3 separate regions of the Homo sapiens genome follow, and all the other regions are linked to region 1. The links are contacts of gene promoters, found by promoter capture Hi-C in human tissues and cell types (Jung and others, 2019). All regions are on one chromosome and are shown on one strand. The core of a region is centred on a gene start or on the middle of the fragment in contact, and the rest is flanking DNA. Distances in the headings are between cores, read along the strand shown. Region 1 holds the start of WNK2 (WNK lysine deficient protein kinase 2). Region 2 overlaps FAM120A (family with sequence similarity 120 member A). Region 3 overlaps FAM120A (family with sequence similarity 120 member A).

Region 1 (2,966 bases), core at 346-2,845:
ACTTGCCCAAGTTCACTCAGCTGGTTAGGGGCAAGGTTGGGGGGTCTTTAGCCTCCAAAGGGAAGACAGAAAAGATCCTTTTCCACCCCTGACCTCTACCTGGAAGACTCCTGCCCCAGGAGATGCAACTTAGATCCCTGTCCCTCAGGCCTCTCTGTCCTGCAGAGCTGGCGTCTGCTGTTTGGCCTCCTCCTCGTGTGAGCTCTGGGCTCATGCCAGCGGACTTGAGCCCCGGAATGAATGCCTGTCTCACACGGTAGATTAGATTATATAAATAACAGGCAAGTGCCAAATGCATAGCCCTACACCTAGCACACTATTTAACCACTGGCTCTCTGGGGAGAAAAGTCCTGATTTGAGGTGTTTGCCAATTTCCGCAGTGTAAATACTCCCAGCATTGCTGACTTCAGGCTACAGGGTGGCATTGCTGAACCCAGAGCTGGGAAGGGATGTTCACTGTTGCCCCTCACAAATTAGTTTCAGCCAGTGCCAGTGCCCAGCGGGGCTCCAGGAAGTCCTGCTTCTCTGGGTAACAGTTGGCCTGGCATATTCTTCCCTCTACATTGTGAAGGTGAGATATCGCCTCTGCTGGCTTTTATGCCACATGAGTTATTTTGTGCCAGGGGCTCCAAGGCCTACAGGCCCACAAGCATCTTTTCATCTCTGGAAGTGTGTGTGTATCTGATGGGGGTGCCAGCCCAGTGGGATGGGGACTGAGATGAGAATACTCTGGTATCTCCCTTGTGCCTCAGTTTCCTCACCTAGGATCATGGAGGCTGGGGTAAGGGTGAAGTGTTAGCTCAGGGCATTGCCTGGAGCAGGGCTCAGAACTTAGCAGTATGGTTACTGACACAGGTCACCTGCTGCATTAGGGCCAGAGACGCCCAAGAGAGGGCTTGTCCGTGGGGGTCTAGAGGAGGAAGGAGCTAGAGATCATGGAAGACTTCTCGGGAGAGGTGGCATCTGGCAGAGGTGGGAAGGAAGAACACTTTGGGTCAAGGGGCTTCTGGAAGCCTCTCCATATCCCATCCAAGGCATTCCAGCTCAGCTTCGGTCTTGAAAGTTCTGGGATTTAGAGCATATAACTTCTGCCTTTGGCGCCTCAGTTTGCTCTAGACTGTGAAATGGGCATAATGATCACCAGTGCCTCCCTGGGTGATGATGAGGTCCTCATGGTTCCTGGTGGTGAAGTGAGGGCAGGAAAGGACACGCTGAGCCCCACCAGGCTTAGCCCCAGGCTGGGCTCCCGAGGGCGGCGGTACCCCTGGTCCTTTTCTTCCTAGCCTGCCCATTCTGTCCTGGCACAGGGCCTTGAGGTCTAGCGCGCCGGGCTGCGGCGTGCTGAGGCGTTGAGCCTGCTGCCTCCTCTCAGGAAGAAACGGGGTCCTCCGCAGCTGACAGCCCTGCGGGGCGTTCCAAAGAACTTCAGAGGACAGGAGCGCTACCTCGAGCAAAGAACCGCGGGTGGGAGCCCAGGTAGCCGGCCCGCAGGTGGCCGCGCGCGCCTGCCAGTCAGCCAGCCCGTCCGCAGCCAGGTGGGCGTGCCAGGCCCAGCCCCCTGCGCCGGTCCGGGGCGGGGCGAACGGAGCCCCGCCCTCCCCGCGCGCCGGGTCGGAGCCGGTGCGGGAGCGGAGCCGCGCGAAGCCGGCAGGAGCACGCGGGAGCGCGGCCCCGCAGTGGCCCGGCCCGAGAGAGCAGCGCGCAGGAGCTGGAGCGGCGCCACGGCCCCCACCCCAGCGCGGACCTCGCCCGGAACTCGGACCCCGTCCTCGAAGCGTGATCTCTCCCGCCTCGCACGCCCTGGCCGCCGGGCCGCGGGCATGGACGGCGTCCGCTCGCCCTGTGAGTGCCGAGCCTCCCCTCAACGCCGCTCGCCGCCTTTGTGTGCGCGCCGCGGCGCTGCAGCCCCCTCCCCGCGCGCCCCTCCCGCGCCCCGGGCCCGCGTCCTTTGTGGAGCCGCCGCCGGGCCACTGCCTTCCTCCCACCCCCGGGCTTCCCTATCCCCTTTACAGCTGCCTCCGGGACAGCCTAGCAGAACCCTCCTGGGCCAGGGCTGGGCAGGGCGCGAGATCCCTCTGCCGGCCTCCGGGGCCCTCAGGGACACCCTAGCAGGTCCTCTCTCCCAGGGTTCCAGGGACACCACAGGCCCGTCCCTCTCCGCAGCCTGGGGCTGAGCAGGGCACGGACCCCTCCTCCCCAACCCAAGCCTCTGGTCCCGTCTGCAGCCCCCCTTTCCCAGGGCCCCCAGAGACGGCCCCCGCAGGCTCTCTCCGCGGCCGGGGCTGGGCAGGTTGCGGGCTTAGGGCGGCGTTGTCTCATCCGGCGGCCTGGGCAGGTGCGGCAGGGCCGGCGCTCACGCGGGCCTGTGTGTCCTTGGCCCACAGAGATGGACGGCGATGGCGGCCGCCGAGACGTCCCCGGCACGCTGATGGAGCCCGGGCGCGGCGCGGGGCCCGCGGGCATGGCGGAGCCTCGGGCGAAGGCGGCGCGGCCGGGGCCCCAGCGCTTTCTGCGGCGCAGCGTGGTAGAGTCGGACCAGGAGGAGCCGCCGGGCTTGGAGGCAGCCGAGGCGCCGGGCCCGCAGCCCCCGCAGCCCCTGCAGCGCCGGGTGCTTCTGCTCTGCAAGACGCGCCGCCTCATCGCGGAGCGCGCCCGCGGACGCCCCGCCGCCCCCGCGCCCGCAGCGCTGGTAGCGCAGCCGGGAGCCCCCGGAGCCCCCGCGGACGCCGGCCCCGAGCCCGTGGGCACGCAGGAGCCCGGCCCGGACCCCATCGCAGCCGCTGTCGAAACCGCGCCTGCCCCCGACGGCGGCCCCAGGGAGGAGGCGGCGGCGACCGTGAGGAAGGAGGATGAGGGGGCGGCCGAGGCGAAGCCTGAGCCCGGGCGCACTCGCCGGGACGAGCCCGAAGAGGAGGAGGACGACGAGGACGACCTCAAGGCCGTGGCCACCTCTCTGGACGGCCGCT
Region 2 (3,046 bases), core at 302-2,801, 290 kb after region 1:
ACTGCTTTGAGATTTCAATGAGATAGCTAACCTACTAAAGATCAGGTATACCAGGCATACGAACATTATTATGAAAGTAGAGTATTACCCCCAAATATAGTTTCTCAATTGAATACAGTTTTGTTTGTAGACTGTGACAGCACTGGTGATAGGATGAGCAGCTTAATGGCCTCATGAGTATTACTGTAGGATGGGCCTTTTCACATATGTTTGTGGGTGGTGATGGAAATTATGGGAGAAGGGTGTTGATTCATGTTACAATCAGCAGTCATTGTCATTTAATCTTGCTAAGAAAGGTTTTATAATTGTGCAGATTTCACATTTGGTGTTTTTATGTAATTTTGAACCGTAGCTATTTCATGAACAGATGAAAGCTTGAACCATAGTCATTTCATGAACAAATGAAAACTTGAATCTAATTGGTATTTGATATCCTGACATTGTCAGACTGACCTTTTGCAAACTGGTGTTTATTTTTAATACTGTGCTGTGAAGTTGTTTCAGTTTTATGCAGTTCTTAGGTTGAATGCTGTTGGGACTGCACTAGAAATTCCCGTCATTCTTGAAGCAGCTGCAAAGATTCTGCCTGCTGTATGTCGCTTTATGTTAAGAGATGAAGATTTGTTCTCAGTTTCTGTTTGAAAGTTTTCTACTATAGGTGACAATATGCAGCACTTTTGAAAGTTTCCCTATGTTACTTAAGATGATTGCTTTTATGTTATCCATGTTTATATTCCAGGAAATCACATTCTGCCTGATGAAGATCTGGCTTCCTTTCACTGGAGTTTACTTGGTCCAGAACATCCACTAGCCTCACTAAAGGTACAAATTTCACTTTATTTTTCTAGCATTTGTAATAATCAACTGTGAGTTTGCTATTACTTTAATAACATGTTAGGCCCTTTATTGGTGATGCTACAAAGTTAGCAATACCATGTTTTCCCATAATTTCAGGATCTGCACTGCCTTAAAAAGCAAGCAACAATGCTACCATCCCTTGTTCTCAACACCTATATGTTAGGTAAATGTATAAATGTCCTTGAAAATTTCCCTTAAGGAATTCTTTGTGCTGTGTACCTAGATAGAAGGAAATCTTTGAGCTGATGTTTTATATATTAATTTTCTTACTTAAAAATTTTAATTTTGTCTTTAGGTAGTATAGTTACTTGTCACTTAGAGCAACATCTTTGCATAGTTGATAAATTTCATAACTAATTTTCTACAATTATAAAATAGTTTATAAAGCTTTTTGGATGATGAGGGAGACTCAAATGGAAGTGATCCATTTGTACTATTTTATTAAAACTTAATATTCTTTTTCTCCCTTTTGATTCCCTTCCTGTTTGTGATAGTAATAAACATCAGAGATGAGGCACTTAATTCTGATTTTCTGCAGTGGAAGTGTCTGTGTTTGATGTGAGCATAGGAGTAATGAGTGAGATATGCACGAGGCACTGGAAAACTTCAGCTTGGACTTGTTAGTGACTCCTGTGATTGTAATGATCATTTGTCAGTTCAAGTGCCTTTCTTGACTTGGGGAATTAGGAAGATGGGGACCTAGACTTTGTATCTGCTTCCCACCCTGGGACTGCTTCCTTACAGTAAAGAGTGGCGGTTAAATTGGGTGTTTTCCGAAGGGCTGTAAAATTTTGAATGTTGTCGTAATTACCCTCCCTCCATAAACAATTTTAATTGGTGGCTAGTTTCAAATGGGAGTTTTTCTTCCTACATTTTAATTTACCTTTAACTCTGGTGATACCCAAAAGCTGAAGTAGAATTCCTTTCCTCCTTTCATTTTGTTCCCTGCTGTTTCATCTCTGGCATGCTTTTTCTTTTTCATCTCTGGCATGCTATAAAATGTTCTCCTTTTCACCCTAATGGGGTTTGGTATGGACTGTTTTCAACTTCTTGTTCAAAAATTAGTTTTTCTTCTCTTGTTAGAAATTACATTTCTGGCCATAGAATCCCTCCTGTATGTTTTCATGAATGAAGTGATGTGATCTGTCATTCGGACTCTAAGCTTCTGGTGATGCCATGATTGAAATGTGGATTGGGGAAATGCAGCGTGTAATCAGCTGGACTTAAGAGCACTGCACCTGTGCTCAGTAGCTCTGTTAAGCATTATGCTTTTGTAAGTGAGACACAAATGAAAGCTTGTTTCCTACAAGATTTATTTTGTTTTGAAGAGCAGGAGTGAGATACTCCCAAGGTTTCTGGCTATATGTGTATGTCTAAGTTAAACTAGCCCTGCTTCATATGTCACAGGGTTAGAAGTGAAGAGCTGTTTGAAGAATTATTGGAAAACCAGCTCAATCTATTGCCAAGTGAATAACATCATTATATGTGTGTTTTTCCTAAATTTTGTTGAGAAAATCTTTAAGTATTGAAATGTGGAAAGAATAGAGAAATGTGTATCCGTATATCCCCCATCTTGGTTCAACAATTATAAACATTTTGCCATAAAGTATATGTCTGTGTTTTGTTTTGTTTAACAAAAACTATTTGGAAGTAAGTTGCAGATATGACACTTTACCCATGAAAATGTCAGCTTGCTCCACCACTTCAGCTTGCTCCATCACTTCCTAAAAATAAGGACATTTTGATACTTTATCATATTACTCCTATGACATCAACTAAATTAATAATTCTTTAATATCTTTTTTTTTGAGACAGGGTCTTGCTCTGTCACCTGTGCTGGAGTGCAGTGTCTAATATCATTTAATATTAAGCCCATATTCAAATTTTTTCAGAGTCATTTATAGGTTTTTTTTTTTTTGATCGAGATCCAGTCAAGCTTTATGCATGCATTTTGATATTAGCTGAGTACTTTTATGGCATATTGGAGAAGAAATCCTAAATTATTTTTCAGATGACTTGATACGTTGTAGGATTTTAAAGTCACACATGAAATGCAAGTGCACCTGGTTTTGAGATAAGTTCAGAAATTGCATTTGTTAGCCACTTTAATGTTTTTATTTGAGACAGAGTCTTGCTCTGTCACCCAGGATGGAGTACAGGGGTGAGATCTCGGCTCACTGCAACCTCT
Region 3 (3,027 bases), core at 58-2,557, 310 kb after region 1:
TTTGGGCCGACTCCTCTTTTCTTCCCACTGTGCGTCATGAACGTGAAGGCCACCACAGCAGTGCATGCCCAGATCACCCAGGGTTTCCATAGTTTCACTGCCACTAGTCCCATGATTCTGTACATCAGTAGTACTGCTGCCTACAGGGGGGCCAGCAGCAGCTGAGTAGGCATTGTGTGGTGGGCAGCAGGCCCTCCGTGGCTGCCAAGGGTTTGCCGCCACTTGCCAGTGGCCTGTGGGCCACAACTGACCACTTAGAACCCTGTGGAGGGTACCATCTCTAACACAAACAAGGGCTGCCATATTAGATGTGTGAGAATTAATACAGTACTATACATAAAACACTTAAAAGAGTGTCTAGCTAAGATATGTTAGCTAATATACCACCATGATCCTCAACAACAACAAAATAACAGTAACCTAATACACCGTTATAACTCACTGGAACATGTCCCTGTTTTGTGCATTCCTCATGCACAGACTTGGAAAGGCAGAGGCACTTACCAAAGGGGACTCTGCTGTTCTGCAGCCACCTTGTGACATACATGGAGGCTTTGAGAGCAGGGGCCTGGAGGGGAATGATAGAGAAGTCATGTCAATTTTAGGTTTTCCAGTACATGTAATAGAAATGTTTACACAGTACTGTAGTCTATTAAGAGTGTAATGGCATTATGTCTGAAACACAAGATACATCCCTTAATCAAAAATACTTTCAAATGCTATGATCGCTTGAGTCTACAGCGAGTTGGAATCATTTTGCTGGTGGAGGGTCTTGCTGATGGCTGCTGACTGATAAGGGTGGTGGTTGCTGGAGGTTGGGGTGGCTGTGGCCGTTTCAGGAAATTGGACAACATTCAAGTTTGTCACATCAATTGACTCTTCCTTTCATGAAAGATTTCTCTATAGCCTGCAATGTTATTTGATAGCAGTTTACCCACAGTAGAAATGTTTTATGAAATTGGAGTTAATCTCAAACCCTGCCACTGCTTTATCAACTAAGCTTATGTCCTATTCTAAATCCTTTGCTTTTATTTTGATATCTTTGATAGCATCTTCACCAGAAGTAGATTCCATCTCAAAAAGGTGCTTTCTTTGCTTGTCCATAACAAGTACTTCTTCATTTATTCAGGATTTATCATGAGATTTCAGCAATTTGGTTACATCTTCAGGCTCCACTTCTAATTCTGATTCTCTTGCTATTTCCACCACATCTGCAGTGACTTCCTCCACTTAAGTCTTAAACCCCCTCAAAGCCATTCACGAGGGTTGGAATCAACCAAGTCTTCCAAGCTCCTGTTAAGGTTGATATTTTGACATCCTCCCATGAATCATGAATGGTCTTAATGGCATTCACTTACTAGAGTAGTGAATTCTGTCCAGAAGGTTTTCAATGTGCTTAGCCCAGATGCATCAGAGGAGTCATTTTCTATGGCAGTTCTAGCCTGATGAAATGTATTTCTTTAATAATAAGACTTGAGTGTCAAAATTACTCCTTTATCCATTATGGGTTGTGGAATGAATGTTGTGTCAACAGGCATGAAGACAACATTCCTTTCCTTGTATGTTAACATGCAAGGGCTGGTCCCTCTGCAGGCTCTCGGGAGGATCCCAGCCCGTCCAGCCTCGAGCATCTGAGGCCCTGTCATGCTGCATCACTGCCTCCTTTCTCCACATTTTGAGGACCCTGTGATTCCCTTGGGCTTGTCTGGGTAATCCAGGACAGGATTCTTATTTGGAGGTCAGCTGACAGGCAGCCTTCATTGAATTTTGCCACGCAATGCAGCATATTCGCAGGTTCTGGAGAGGAGGATGTGGACAGCTTTGGGAGGTCATTGTCCTGCCTACCGCAAAGCTCTTATTAGGTGGCTGGTCTTCTTTTTCAACCTGTTAACTTACGTTTTTCTAGTGTCAGCTGTTTTTGGCTAATGAGATGTTCCTACTCTTTATTTGATATTCTTTGTCACTTTCCTCAAACATGCCCCTCAACAGGCAGTGATACCATTTTTCTCCAGTTAGAGCTGAAGTTGGCCTTTGAAGGTGGATTCAAGGACTTGGTAACTGCATTTCTGCTTACAGTTTCAGGGAGTCCTGGGCTCTAATCTAAAGATTCTACTTGTGCAGGCCTTCATCTTTGTTGGTTGGTGTTGAAAGAAAGGGAGCGAATGGTGGCTCCAGGCCTTCTCTCTGGGCTGCTTTGTGCTTCGCTTGTTATGGGTGCAGGTCCTGGCCTTGGAATTAATCGCAAACAAGTCTTGGACTTCTCAGAAGTGGTGGAAGACTGTCAGATGCTCTTTTCACCCAACACAGTTTAAGCAGCTGAGTTGTATTTCATCCACTGAAAGGAAAATCCAGTTCTTGAGCTTCAGAACGTGAACGGCTTAGGAAAGTCTTAGGGCCAAGATCTTACAAGTGGACAATCATTGGGCACTGATAAGATCTTAGATGGTAGCTCCTTGTTGAATTTCTGGCTCCTGCATTCAGATTAGCCTGGTACTGGTTGCTCACCATCCACTGTTGACACTTACGTTTGTTTTCTCAGGTCCGGGCCCACCAGCTGGTCTTGCCACCTTGCGACGTAGTGATCAAAGCCGTTGCTGACTATGTACGCAACATTCAGGACACCTCTGACTTGGATGCCATAGCTAAAGATGTTTTCCAGCATTCACAGGTAAAAAAAAAAACAAACAAAACAAAAAAACAGATTCATGGGATATGACGTTGCATAGTGGTGTGGCCAGGTTTGGAAGAAGGGGACTTGAGGGTGCAAGCTGACTGGATGGGTCTGAGAGCTCTTGCTCAGGCCACTGGAAGAAAGCTGCAGGTTGCAAGGCCAGAGGCTGAGGTAGCCTGGTCATGTTCCCTGCCAGCCAGGAAGTCTCAGCCACTTCACCCAGCTTTTCCAGGCTGAATAAAAGGGAGATTCAGTTAGACGGTTGGTGAGGTCTCCTGCTCATAAGTTCTCGATCTTAACTTAATAGGATCTGTATTTCAGAGTTTTCAGAACATGAACTGTATCAAGTCAGTCAT

The links. Contacts are between HindIII fragments. The study calls those that stand out against the background at their distance.
Region 2: a fragment that was not itself captured here is called in contact with the fragment with the promoter of WNK2 in region 1 in 2 of the 25 tissues and cell types used here (dorsolateral prefrontal cortex and spleen).
Region 3: a contact is called between a fragment that was not itself captured here and the fragment with the promoter of WNK2 in region 1, in 2 of the 25 tissues and cell types used here (dorsolateral prefrontal cortex and spleen).

Annotation. Positions count from the first base shown.
Region 1 is chr9:93,182,544-93,185,509 of GRCh38, forward strand. WNK2 (WNK lysine deficient protein kinase 2) reads left to right here and starts at 1,596. Exons shown (of 30, transcript NM_006648.4): 1 at 1,596-1,842; 2 at 2,385-2,966. The coding sequence starts at 2,387. The HindIII fragment of the contact is 13,924 bases long and covers 1-2,966 here.
Region 2 is chr9:93,475,517-93,478,562 of GRCh38, forward strand. It overlaps FAM120A (family with sequence similarity 120 member A), which reads left to right. Exons shown (of 18, transcript NM_014612.5): 3 at 740-822. Among named protein-coding and RNA genes, the nearest start is that of FAM120AOS, 23 kb to the left of the region's middle. The HindIII fragment of the contact is 3,682 bases long and covers 1-3,046 here.
Region 3 is chr9:93,494,932-93,497,958 of GRCh38, forward strand. FAM120A (family with sequence similarity 120 member A) reads left to right here. Exons shown (of 18, transcript NM_014612.5): 4 at 2,540-2,668. It also overlaps the pseudogene LOC100419516. Among named protein-coding and RNA genes, the nearest start is that of FAM120AOS, 43 kb to the left of the region's middle. The HindIII fragment of the contact is 5,712 bases long and covers 1-3,027 here.